2 separate regions of the Homo sapiens genome follow, and region 1 is linked to region 2. The links are contacts of gene promoters, found by promoter capture Hi-C in human tissues and cell types (Jung and others, 2019). All regions are on one chromosome and are shown on one strand. Each heading gives the region's core, a stretch centred on a gene start or on the middle of the fragment in contact. The rest is flanking DNA. Distances are from core to core; before and after follow the strand shown.

What was found. Contacts are between HindIII fragments. The study calls those that stand out against the background at their distance.
Region 1: a contact is called between a fragment that was not itself captured here and the fragment with the promoter of GNAZ in region 2, in 1 of the 25 tissues and cell types used here (dorsolateral prefrontal cortex).

The regions. Positions count from the first base shown.
Region 1 is chr22:22,475,779-22,482,817 of GRCh38, reverse strand. It overlaps IGL. Among named protein-coding and RNA genes, the nearest start is that of ZNF280B, 29 kb to the left of the region's middle. The HindIII fragment of the contact is 9,727 bases long and covers 1-7,039 here.
Region 2 is chr22:23,067,548-23,074,442 of GRCh38, reverse strand. GNAZ (G protein subunit alpha z) reads right to left here and starts at 3,924. Exons shown (of 3, transcript NM_002073.4): 1 at 3,873-3,924. All of the region lies in intron 4 of RSPH14 (radial spoke head 14 homolog), which reads left to right. RefSeq lists enhancers at 1,461-2,342, 2,343-3,223 and silencers at 3,830-3,969, 4,110-4,249. The HindIII fragment of the contact is 23,611 bases long and covers 1-6,895 here.

The DNA.
Region 1 (7,039 bases), core at 3,252-5,751, 590 kb after region 2:
TCCTCCTGCCCTGGCCTCCCAAAGTGTTGGGATTGCAAGTGTGTGCCACTATGCCTAACCTATTTTTTAATTTTCTTTAACAAAGGATTCAAACCAGCTGGGCGTGGTGGCTCATGTCTGTAATCCCAGCACTTTGGGAGGCAGAGGTGGGTGGATCATATGTGGTCAAGAGTTCGAGCCTGGCCAAGATGGTGAAAACCCGTCTCTACTAAAAATACAAAAATTAGCCAGGCGTAGTGGCGGGCACCTGTAATCCCAGCTACTGGGGAGGCTGAGGCAGGAGAATCACTTGAACCTGGGAGGTGGAGGTTGCAGTGAGCTGAGATTGCACCATTGCACTCCATCCAGTCTGGGAAACGAGTGAAACTGCGTCTCAAAAAAAAAAAATTAAGACGTGGTGGTGCACACCTGTAGTCTGACCAGCTACTTGAGAGGATGGGGCGGGAGGGCTTGAGTCCAGGAGGTCTGCAGTGAGTTATGATTGTACCACTAGGTGACAAGAGATGCTGCCTCAAAAACAAACAAAAAACCCAAAACTTGGAAACCAAACTGAAAGTCAAATTATTAAATATATACCTACTACAAACAGTATTCAGTTATCAAAAGTAGTGATTATAGGAGCTATTGCAGTACACAATTTTATTTGGCTATAATGCAAAATAAGAAAGGAACATACAAAGTTATATGTACTTTGCAATTGTAATTATTCATGATAACATCTATGGAAAAGAATGATAAATTCTAAATACAATTGAGTTTACTTAATCCCATAGTGATTTTTATTCTTTCAAATGCTGGTATGGTGGCTCACAACTGTAATCTCAACACTTTGGGAGGCCAAAGCAGGCGGATCACTTGAGGCCAGGAGTTCCAGACCAGCCTGGCCAACATGGTGAAACCCCGTCTCTACTAAAAATAGAAAAACTGGCTGGGCATGGTGGTGTGTGCCTGTAATCCCAGCTACTCGGGAGGCTGAGGCAGGAGAATCGCTTGAACCCAGGAGGTGGAAGGTGGAGGCTTAGCCGAGATCACCCTGCTGCGCTCCAACCTGGGCAATGGAGCGAGACTCTCTCAAAAAAATGTTATATAAGTGAGTTATTTTGTCTTTTAAAAGCATTCATCATATAAATAAAGTAAATTCCATTTCAGTGGTTAGCCCTTTTAGACTCTTTCCTTCCCGGTTATGAGATTGAAATTAGAACAATTATCAATGTGTGGCAAGACTGCCACTAAGACACAAGTCTTTCTTAGCTTTAGGGCAAGCATTGGCAAACTGTGGCTTTTAGGCTAAGTTTAAATTTTCAAAACATTGTTAGAGCCAGAGACCCATATACACCCAGCAAAGCCTAAAATATTTACTACCTGACACTTTATAGAAAAAAGTTTGCTGACCCCTGCTCTAGTTATAACTTAGACTCATTTGTATCTTCCCCTGTATTCATGTATGTGGGCTAATGGCTTAGAACTTTGGATGTGAATGGGATGGGGTTATTCCTTGATCCTATCCAGGGATTGATAGAATCCAAAACAGTAGAAAGAGGCACAATGTCAGAAATGACAGAAAAGCTGTCTGAGGGATGTGTGCATGGGTGTGTATAAACATACACATCGAAACCTTAGTACCATTTTTCCATGTTTTTTGATGGGTGGGATTGTGTGCTTTGCAAACAGGGAAGGGAATGTGTTATCTGTTGCTGCATAACAGGTTACCACAAAACTAACAGCTTAAACATTAACTCACATAGTCTCTGAGTGTCAGGAATCCTGGAACAGTTTAGTGTCAGATCCTACAGGTTAGGGTCTCGGTCCTCCAGACTTCCCCCCATACCCCCAGACACCACTCCCAAGTCTGGGTATACTGAACTTCTGACTGACTGACTTCAAGTTGGGGTTCTCACAACCCCCTCTTTGGATTTCATTAATTTGCCACAATAGCTCACAGAACTTGAGGAAACACGTTTACAGGTTTATTATAAAGGATATTACAAAAGATACAGATGAAGAGACACACAGGGCAAGGTGTGTGGAAAGAGGTATGGAGCTTCCATGGCTTCCCTGAGTGCGCCAACCTCCAAGAACCTCCAAGTGTTGTTCAGCTAACTGGAAGCTCCCTGAACCCAGTCTTCTTGGGTTTTTATGGAAGCTTCATGACTTAAGCATTCTCTCCCGCTAGAGTATAGGGCAGGATTCTCTCTTGGGAGGGTCTTAGAACCCACAATCAGAAAGATTAGAGTCCTGCCTTGGGGCAGGTAAAAGGATGGCAGAAGGTCAGAAGCCTACCTCTGAGGCCTAACACCGAACATTATAACAAAAGACTGTAACAAGGGCTGTGGGAGTTATGAACTGTGGACAAAACCAATGTATATTATAACACCACAAGAGCATAGCATACACAGCATAGAGATGCTGGTCAATGGGATGATTTATGTCCTGAATGGAACTCAGAGCCACTGCACTAGATTTCATCACACTAACCAGAATGGCATGCAATTTAAAACCTAAGAATTGTTGGCTGAGTGTGGTGGCTCACGCCTCTAATCCCAGCACTTTGGGAGGCTGAGGCAGATAGATCATTTGAGGTCAGGAGTTTGAGAACAGCCTGGCCAACATAGTGAAACCCCATCTCTACTTAAATACAAAAGTTAGTTGGGTGTGGTGGTGGGCACTTGTAATCCCAGCTACTCAATACACTGAGGTAGGAGGATTGCTTGAGGCCGAGGAGCAGAGGTTGCAGTGAACCGAGATCACGCCACTGCACTCCAGCCTGAAGGACAGAGCAAGACCCTGTCATTAAATAAATAAATAAATAAACTAAAACCTATGAATTGTTTATTTCTGGAATTTTCCGTTTAATATTTTTGGACCACAATTGACTGTGGGTAACTGAAACCATGGAAAGTAAAACCACAGATAAAGGGGACTACTGTACTCTGAAGCATCATTTTTGATCTTTCAGAGCCTTAAAGGATTTTACCCTCTGACTGGGTGCAGTGGCTCACACTTGTAATCCAAGGCTGGTGGATCACCTGAGGTCAGGAGTTCAAGACCAGCCTGGCCAACATGGTGAAACTCCGTCTCTACTAAAAAAAAAAAAAAAAAAAAAAAAAAAAAATTTGCTGGGCATGGTGGCCTGCACCTGTAACTCCAGCTACTCGGGAGGCCGAGGCAGGAGAATCACTTGAACCTGGGAGGCAGAGGTTGCCGTGAGCTGAGATCAAGCCGTTACACTCCAGCCTGGGTGAAACTCTGTCTCAAAGAAAAAGTAAAAAGGATTTTTACCCTCATCTTTCATATTTCTGCACCTTTCTTTAGTGCCCTGGATATAACCTTTGCTTGGGAGCAGTTAATTTTAGCATCTTTTGCCATCTGGAAAGACTGGGAATTTTCAAAACCAGCAGGTACTGGCTCTTGGCTCTTTTTTGTTTAACACTTCTTCCCTTAGCTTGTTTCTGTCCCCTCAGATTTTACTATAAGTAGCAAGAAGAAACCAATCAGCACTTTCAGCATTCTGGCTGGAAATCTCAATTAGATGACTCAGGTACATTTTCTACTTTCACCTGACTAGGTGATAGTCACTAAACTTTCTGCCACTACGTAACTACGTAACCCCTTGCTCAATTTTCTAATAACATGTTCCTCACTTCATTTTAAGCTACACCAGAGCCTTCTCAGAGTCCAGTTTTCTACTAAGGCTTGCACTGACAATCTCCTTGAAGATTTTTTAGCTTCTGCCCACTGCCCAGTTTCAAAGCCACTCCTACATTTTAGGTATTACACCAGCACCTCCCTTCCAGGTACTAAAATCTGTATTAGTTACCTATTGCTGTATAATATATTACTGCAAACTTATCAACTAAAACCACCACTATTTGTTATCTCATGGTTTCCGAGGGTCAGGAATTTGGGGTCACTTAACTGAGTGGTGCTGTCTCAGCTTCTTTCATGAGGTTGCAGTTAAGATGTTGACTGGGGCCATATCATGTGAAAGGCTTGACTAGGGCTTTCAAACTCACTTGGGTATTGGCAGGAGGCCTCCCTCTGTTCCTTGTCATATGGTCCTCATGACATGTCAGCTGGCTTCCTACAGAATGAGTGATCCAAAAGAGAACAAGGAAGGCATTGCAATGTTTTTTATAATAGCCTTGGAGGTAAAATAACTTCACTCTGTTGTATACTCTTGGTCACCCAGAGCAACCCTGATGCTATGTGGGAATGGACCATATACAGATAGGAATACCAGAGGGTGGGGAATCACTGGAGGCCATCTTGGAAGTTACCACAGGGAAAATGGAACATTAGAAGTTTTTATGATACAAGGAAGGCAGCTAAAACTGAGTTAATGGTCATTGTGTTGCCTTCCCACTCTCTGGTGTGCCATTGTGGCTGACACCATTTTGAGAGGATTCTTTTTAAAGTTCATTTATTTTAAAATGTTGAGTATATAATATATTCACATTCTTCAAACATCGAAAAAGTAACAACTCAGATTCTTTTTTTAGCCTTTCAGATAGTTTCTTATTTTTTCTTTTCTTTTTTTTAAATAACTGATTTATATTATGCACAGTCTTCTGCACCTTGCTTTTTTTATTTGACGGTGTAACATGTTCACATTTTATGGCATATAAACAGGAAAATTATAGCCTGAGATTATGAAAGGGCTAATTAAAAATATTTCTGAAGTGTTTCCAAAGATTACTAAGAAAAATCGGGGGCCGGGTGTGTTGGCTCACGCCTGTAATTCCAACACTTTGGGAGGCCAAGGTGGGCAGATCACAAGGTCAGGAGTTCGAGACCAGCCTGGCCAATGTGGTGAAACCCCATCTCTACTAAAAATACAAAAATTAGCTGGGCATGATGGTGGTGGGCACCTGTAATCCCAGCTACTTGGGAGGCTGAGGCAGGAGAATTATTTGAACCCAGCAGGTGGAGGTTGCAGTGAGCTGAGATCGCACCATTGCACTCCAGCCTGGGTGACAGGGCCAGACTCCATCTCAAAAAAAAAAAGATTACTAAGACAAATCTCTAATGCACTATTATAAAATTGTTGTAAAGAAAAAAATCCCTGTCCATTTCACAAAGAATAAATATAGCTGATTGGTAAATAAATGCAAAATATTTAGTCTCCATAGCAAAAACAAAAATGGGAATTAAAGCAATGGTAGCGTACTGATGAATATTATATAAATTGTAATGTTTACTGTCAGTGAGGATGTATTAAAAGGAGTTTCAATTGGCATAAGCCTTTTTGGAAGTTATTTCAATATATGAATAAAAAGGTAATAATTTCATTTTTTTCATAGGATGCTTTTTTTTTTTTTTTTGAGACAAAGTCTCACTCTGCTGCCCAGGCTGGAGTTCAATGGCGCAATCTCGGCTCACTGCAACCTCTGCCTCCAGGGGTCAAGCAGTTCTCCTGCCTCAGCCTCCCAAGTAGCTGGGACTACAGGCACCTGCCACCATGCCCGGCTAATTTTTTGTATTTTTAGTAGAGACAGGGTTTCACCATGTAGGCCGGGCTGGTCTCAAACTCCTGACTTCAGGTGATCCACCTGCCTTGGCCTCCCAAAATGCTGGGATTACAGGCGTGAGCCACTGCTGGCCTCATGGGATGCTTTTAACATATCCAATAAAAATTTACAGAATGAATGTTTATGTATATATCCAAAATTGAGTATGTAAGATAATTCATCAATACTTTGGTTGTACTAATGTAAATGTAAAGTAGAAATAATTTTTTTTTTTTTTTTTAGTTAGAGACAGGGTATCTCCATGTTGGTCAGGCTAGTCTCAAACTCCTGATCTCAGGTGATGTGCCCACCTCGGCCTCCCAAAGTGCTGGGATTACAGGCATGAGCCACCAGGCCTGGCCAGAAATAATTTTAAATGCCTGGAAACTGAACAGTTTTGTACTTTTCATTTAATAGCTGCACAATCTACTTTTTTTGTTGTTTTTCGTTATTGTTGTTTTGGTTTGGTTTTTTTTTGAGGCGGAGCCTCACTCACTCTGTCGCCCAGGCTGGAGTGCAGTGGCACTATTTCGGCTCACGGCAACCTCCGCCTCCTGCGGTCAAGAGATTCTCCTGCCTCAGCCTCCTGAGGAGCTGGGATTACAGCCGCGGGCCCCCACGCCCGGCTAATTATTTTTTTGTAATTTTAGTAGAGATGGGGTTTCACCACATTGCCCAGGCTGGTCTCAAACTCATTGGCCCCAAGTGGTCAGCCGCCTCTGCCTCCCAAAGTGCTGGGATTACAGGCATGAACCACCGTGCCTGGCTGAAATAGCTGCACTATATACTTTTTTTAAAAGAGATAGATTGCAGTAATGTGAAAGAAAACTAGCAGGAAAAAAATTTGTATACATTGTGATCTGAACTATGGAGAAAATATGTGAAAGAACAGCCAGGCGCGGCGGTTCACACCTGTAATCCCAGCACTTTGGGAGGCCGAGGCGGGGCAAATCACTTGAGCTCAGGAGTTCCAGACCAGCCTGGCCAACGTGGAGAAACACCGTCTCTACTAAAAATACAAAAATTAGCCGGCGTGGTGGCAGATGCCCGTACTCCCAGCTGCTCGGGAGGCTGAGGCAGGAGAATTGCTTGACCCCCCCAGGAGGCAGAGATTGCAGTGAGCCAAGATTGCACCACTGCACTCCAGCCTGGGTGACAGAGTGAGACTCTGTCTCAAAAAAAAAAAAAAAAAAAAAAAAGAAGAAGTAGGAGAAGAGACTAAAATTGTAACATCTAACTTCTGAACTATTTGGTCTTTACGGCGTAGTTAAATATGCTCCTTGAAACAAATACTTCTAGGTCGGGCATGGTGGCTCACGCCTGTAATTCCGGAATTTTAGGAGGCTGAGGAGGAAGGATAGCTTGAGCCCAGAAGTTCAAGACCAGCCTGGGCAACACAGGGGGATCCAGGCTGTACAGAAAATAAATAAATTAGCCAAGTGTGGTGGTACACACCTATGTTCCCAGCCACTTGGGAGATTGAGGTAGGGGAGGATAGCTTGAACCTGGGAGGTCAAGCCTGCAATAAGCAG
Region 2 (6,895 bases), core at 2,675-5,174:
CTTGCTTCTCAGCCAATACCAGCTCCATCTTTCTACTGGTTCAGACCAAAACTGCAGCTGTCCTTTAAAAGCTGCAGCTTTAAAAAAACAAATCTCCCACCTGCATTTCTCAGGGCCTCCAGAGCTCCCACCCCTGGGTCAGCAGCCTCTCTGCCTGGGATGTTGCAGTAGCCCCTCATGGCCCCCAGCCTTACCCCACCCTAGCCTATTTTCCCACCTCAGCAGAGAGATCTTTTCAAAGTGTAGATTAGCTCCTCCTGGGAGGGCAGCTCCAGTCTCTTCTCTGCTCCAACCCTGCCAAGGTCTTCCTGCCTCATTGGGGCCCACTGAGTCCTGCAGGACCTGGCCCTGACACCCCACCCACACTCCTGCACCAGGTTCCAGCCACTCTGGTGGGGCCTCCAGGGGCCAGGGAGTGTCTGCTCAGCGCCTTTGCACCTGCTGTCTCTCCCCTGCTCAGCCACACCACTCACCCAGCACTTCTGCATGGCACTGTGTCAGTCCCCCACCCCCATCTCGTGTCCCCCACCTTCTGCTTTAGTGTTCTCCACAGTGCAGCACTTAGTAACATGTGTTACTGTCAACCCCTGCCCGTCTGGTGTGAGCACTGTGAGTGGATGCTACGTCCCTGCTGTACCCCTGCACCTGGCACAGTGCCTGGCATGCAGCAGGCGCTGGTAAATGTTAGCTGAACAAATGAATGGATGAATCGCGTGAGGTTCTGCTCCTCCGGCTCAGTCCAGAGGGCTGATGTCTCCTCCTATGTGCTCTAGGATCTGTCAAGCGGTCCCTGTTGGTTCAATCCTGTGAAGCGCCTCCCCTGGCGGTGTTCGCACGAAAGGGCCAAAATGTGTGGCAGGGGCTGGTGTGGGGACAGGGCAGGGCACTCTTGGCTTTGGGTATGGATGAGGATAATGAGGTTCAGAGAAAAAGGGGCTGGACCTAGGATGGTGGGACCAGGACCTGACTCCAGGTCTTCTGCCACCTAGACTGGAATGCTCACCTCACCACCCCGGAGCCACAACAGTCTGGGTGCTCCCACGTCCCTCTTCATTCTGCCCAGGCCGCAGCATAGCCTCTGCTCTGGGATTCTGCCTGGGGCTGACCCTTGGCATCTGCACTGACGCCTCTGTTCATTTCGCTTTGTGCTCCTTCCAGCCAAGCACAGTGCTCACAGGTGCTCAGAGGCTTGGCTACCCCAGGTTTCCTTGCTGGAGGGTTCGGGAGAGCAGCATGCTGACCTGCCTCCTCCAGTGTGCCCGTGCACCTGCCATGGTCAGCAGCAGTGAGAGTGCCTTTGCCACCACACACCGTCTTAAGTATTCTGAGGCTAGCGTGGGACAGACAGCACAGGGCTGCCTTCCTTGCCTCCAGGGGAGGAAGCCGCACACATGTGTTCACACACAAGATGACTAAATTCAGCATTCCTGAATTGCTATATTCAGCATTCCTGTCCCACTGGCCTCTCTGCGGGGGCCCTGGGCAGCCCTTGTGAAGTCAATCCAGTTACCTGCAAATTCCTGGAATTGTTCTAGAAGCTCCTGAGGGCCAGACTGAGACCCCACCCATACTCCTGCACCAGGTTCTGGCCACTCTGGTGGGGCCTCCAGGTCTCTGAGGTTCCTCCTGAGATTCTAGAAAACAAAAGGACTGAGAGGCTGGGGACAGAGGGAAGAATCCATTCCCTGTGTCCCAAACCCACAGTCACATGCCAGGTCCCTGCAACAGTCCAGGCGACAGGCACAGAGCACAGCAGCTCACCCTGCTCAGCACAGACTGCACACCCCACGAGGGCAGGCCCTGTTCTCGCTGCATCAACCTGGGCCTTGGCCAAAGCCAAGTGTGTGTTGGGTGGGGAGGGTAGGCACACTACAAAGATGAGTAACAAACAGCCCCTTCAGAGGGAGAGCAAAAACATCCCCAGAAATGAGGGAGCTGACTTAGGGGGGAAAGTGACACCAATTTCCGAGGGGGAGAAATTATGTCTTATTCACCTCCTGTCTCAGAAAATCAACGTCAGTTAGAGGAACACACAGGAAGACTTTTAAACCAGATGCCAGCATCTCCTCATTCCTAGAGAATGAGGCTTGCTCAAGGCGCATATTTTATCCAAGCACCGCCAGGCCATCCACACCCCCACTGCACCCCGTAGATGGATGCTCCCAGGCTGCCACGATTACTGCTCTCAAACATCCACATCCCAGAGGCACAGAGTCACTAGCTAAGCATCATCCCCGAAACAGGCAACTCAATCCTAACAAGGGGGTTGCCTGGGTGGTTACCCAGTGCCCTGGCTGTGCCCGAGGGAGAAGTGCCTGGAAGCACAGTCTCAGACTGCAAGGAGCCTTCCCCAGTCTTTAAAGCTAGCTCTTCTCCAGGCCCACCCCAGCTCATGGGGTCATGGAACTGCTTCGCTTTTACAGATGAGGAAGCCGTGGTCTCCACCATAGCCACAGTTAACCAGCAGTGGGGTCATTCCACTTCCCAGCTCCCTCAGCCCCGTGCAGCCCCCACCGGCCTTTCCCGCCATACCTCCTCCTACTCCCCAGGCATGCTAAGTGCTCCCATCAGACCTAACTGCCCAAGTGCCTCGGTCTATTCTCTCCTCTCTGCCCACAATGCCCAGCTTAGCTGTGCCCATGTCCTTCAAGCTCCAGTTCAAATGTCATGTTGCCCACGAGCTCACCTGACCCCCCAGCCCAGGACACCACTCTGAGGTCCCTCCCGAGGCCCCTGCACCTGCACTCAAGCGGGGTTGGTCGAGTAGAGACGTTTTCCCCTATGCGGTGGTCAATCAGTCCTGGGAGGGCAGGCCCAGTCCACTCCCACCCGGTGCACCCCAGCGTCAAGCTCTGGGGGAGTGACCACTCAATAAATATTTGCTTAATTGAATTTGGCCAAGGAGCCTTCTCCAGAGAGCTCAATCCCCAGGGCAGGGAAATCACTTGGGCAGAAAGGAGCCGGTCAGGGGCTCAGCTGTCTCCCCAAGCAAGACAGACCTCTCTACCAGGCGGGTCCCTCCACCCCAACACGGACTACGCGGAACGCTGGTCTCGCTTGGCATCATCCTCTTGTCTCAGTTAACAGGAGCCCCCATTCTCGGCCTAGGCCGAATCCTGCCATCATCACCCAGGAAGGCTCAGCACCGCCCTAAAGGCAGAGCCCCCTCGGATCGCCCGCAGGATACGGAGCGCCAGCCCTGAGGCCCTCACTCCCCTCCCCCAAACACCCCCACCGCCTTTTAAGGGAAAAAATATTGAGCCGGGAACGTATTACAATCGCAGCAGGTCGATACTCATCTCTTCCTCTAAATGCCTGTGAGGAACCTGCTCGCTGCAAGAGCAGTGACCGAGAACTGCTAGCTGTCCGTCTGCGGGCCCAGGTCCTCGGGCCCAGGCCTCTGGGGCCCTCTCCTCGGTTTCAGGCAAGGCCCTGCATCGGCTCCGGCCGCCCCTCCCTGATCCTCCCCCTAGGGAGACCCGCCTCAGCGCCGCTCCCGCAGCTCGCCTGGCCCGCCCGGGCTCCGCATCAGCCGCTGCTTGGGGGCGCCCGGCGGCCCCGCGCGGCATCCCCGGCGCCCTCTGTCCACCCTCCCGGGTCCTCAACCGCCCCCTCCCGCGGGGTCATCGGCTTGGCGGCGCATCCCTCCCCCAGCACCTGCCCGACCAGAGGCCGCCCCCTGCCCACCTCGCAGGCGTCCCCGCCCTTGGTGTCCCCCACCCCTGAGGGGCATCCCTGACGCTGCGTCCTGGCGGATCCGGGGCACAAAGGCCTGGGAAGAGTCCCAAGTGGGGGCAAGGTGGATGCCCCGGCCGTGCCCCCGACCCCTGAGGCTCAGCGGCGCGCGGCCGGCCGCGGGTCGGCTCACTCACCTCCGGGCCGCAGCACAGAGCATCTGCCGAGCTGCTCCGGGCAGGGCGGGGCGGGGCGGGGCGGCGAGCACGGGGCCGCGGCGCCCTCGTTCCGTACGACGCGGGCAGCGGCGCCCACGCGGGGACGTGACCGGACCGCGGGCGGCGCACACGCTCCGGCCGGCCTGGTTCCCTCCGCCCGCCCTCCCGCGCCGCCCGCCGCCCGCCGCCCGCCGCCAGTCCGCGGGTCCGCCCGCCCCGCGCCGCGCCGCCGCCGGCAGGGGGCGGAGCCGCGAGCGCAGCCCGTTGCCAGGCCAACCGCGGGCGGGGGGGTGCCGCGCGCCCGCCGGGCACCACGCGCCGGGCACCTCCGCCCCGCCACGAGCGCCGGCCCTCTGTCCATTGGGCACAGGCAGCTGACGGACGGGCCAGTAGCCCAATGGGGACGGACAGGGGCGGGGTCGCAGCTCCGCGCGCGCCGCAGTCCCGCAAGAGCTCCCCGCGCCGGCGTTCCACCGACTCCGCTGCGCTGAGGCCTGGTAGCCGAGCCCCAGGGGCCACCTCTGGCAGCCCGGGAAACCAAGCCTGAGCCCAGCCATGGTCCTGGCCCTCTTTACTGCAGCCAGTCCCGGCTCGCCTTCTCTCCACTCGGGTTCAAACCCAGTTCGGCCTCTTGTGAGCTCTACGTCCTTGGGCAACCGACTGACCTCTCTCAGCCTTTCTGTTTGCAAAGTGGGGCTAGTGGCACCTGCTTTCCTGGATTGTCTCACCAATCCTTCAGAACGTGTGAAAGGCCTATGCAAACCCTAACGATTTACACCGGTGAGGTTTGTGCAGCGATGGGAGGGAGCATTAGTCATCTCTGCCGCCGCCCCCCGCCGCCACCGCCCAGTGTCTAGGGGCTCTTTGGCGTCCCTGGCAATCCTGGCACACGGAAGGGTGGCCTTGGGAGGGAAGGAAGGGAGAAGGACCGAGGAGCTGGCCCCCAGCCCAGACAAGCGTGAGAGAGCCAGTTCAGTTAAGGCCACTGATTGGCGCTTTTGGGAAGCTGGTGGAAAGCATCAGACCCTCAGCAAAACGCAGCTGAACCCAGGCTGCAAAATTCTGTTTTCAATTTCAAAGCCTATCTGTGGACCTCAGGGCCAGGAGTCCCTCAGTTCCATGCTTAAAAGACTCTCAAGCCAGAGGGCCAAGACATGAATGCTCCTGTCTCTCTTCTCCATCTTTGTAAATCTGAAGCTTTGTGTATCCTAGAGCATCCCTGACAAAGTGCAAATGCCTTCCCAGCTAACGCGTTCCTTATCACCTCACACCTTTGTAAGGTGTGGATCATGCCATTCTTTGAGCAGCAGCCCTGGACCTGACCATGGCAGAGGTCCATGGAGCGGTCTCTCCATCATAGCTCTGTGGTGGAGGGGCAGGGGCATGTGCCTGGCTTTGCCAGCTGGACACTGTGGCATCTCAGCATCATCCCATAACCTCCCTAGGAATGTTTCCTCTTCTGTGAGATGGAGACCATTGCGTTACGTACCTGCAGGGTCATGGGCCACCTGTGAGGGTGCTGCCTCAACTGTCAGGAACAGGACGTATATTTGTTATGGGCATCATGGAGGCGAACTTAGTGCTCACTGGAGGTGTCCAGTGAGGACCAAGGGAATTCAGCCAATGGCTGAGGGGCTAGCTACCCTTTGTGCTTGCCTTCCACACCACCAGGCTGTGTCAGGCTGGACCTCTTGCCAGGAGGACCACACAGAGACCGGCAGCTGTGCTACCTGGCTGAGCCTCTGTTTCCTCTTCTGTCAAAAGGGAATGTAACAGACTGTGGTCAGAGGGTGGCTCTGAGGGTTAATGTTTATAGGAAATGCATATTAGCATGTCTTGGGATAGCCAGAGGCTGTTTCCACTGCAGAGTCTGGGGGTCAGAGTTGAATTGTTTGCAGAGGTAAGCCCACATGCAACAGTGAGATGGCCCTTTCCAGTGGTCCAGAGCAGAGGCTAGCCTGCGGAGGGGTCCACTGGGGCTGGCTGACACCTCCCTGACTTGACCTCAAAGTAAGAGAGGGACATCTCACCTGGCATCAAACCAATATTGTATTCATGCAGCAGTCACTTACAGATAGCCTCCTCCACCAGGGTATAGTTGTAGGCACAGTTCTAGGATTCAGACCGGCCCTTTTCTGGCAGACCCTCTGCCTGTAGGGCAGGGGCAGAAAGCAAACAACGATTGGGCCTTACAGTCATGTGAGGCTATCTGAGGAGACCCACTGGGGCTCTGGGGGCATGTGGAGTGGGGGAGCATTGGGCATTGGGCCAGCTTCCCAAAGGAAGAGATGCTTGGAATGAGGCCATAGCAGGCGTGGAGGTGGCCAGTGACATAGGGTGGGAGGGAAGTGAGTTCCAAGGCGGGGACGGTGCAGGACATGAAGGAGCACGAGGCCAGGAAGAACCCAGAGAAGACCAGTGTGGCTGGGGCCAGGGTCGTTGCCCATGCACAGATGCCAGCTTGGGGCAGTAGGATCAGGGACGTTGGCCTAAGAACTGCTCGAGAGTTTTAACATTAGTCTTTTAAATTTGAGAAGGAGGAGGAGAAGTTTTTAATTGCCTGTTTACAGTAGGCGTGGTCCCACAGACAATGTGAGTTGTCCTACTGGACATAATAAAATAACAAAAACATCAGTTAGTCAGTCCAGAGGAAGTGGGAGTGAGCACAGAAGTCAGTCTGTGAGGCTGAGTTCAGTGTACGGTCTGCTGTGGCTGTGAGATGGCAGGGAGACCAAGAGCATGTTAGGAGACAGTGGCGGGGCATTATCAGGACCCAGGGAGATGAGAGAAGGGGAGAGGGTGGGGACCACTGGAGGAAGAGATGGTGCTTACCAAAAAGATGGAGGAGCAGTTGGGGAGGTGGTCAGGAACCAGAGAATGGAGGGTACCAGAGGCACGGGAAGAGAGCATGTGGTAAAGGAAGAAGCTGTTAACCATGCTCCCAGCTACCTGGAAGCCGAGAAAGCTGAGGACAGAGAAGCACCCCTTGGAGCAAAGGCAGG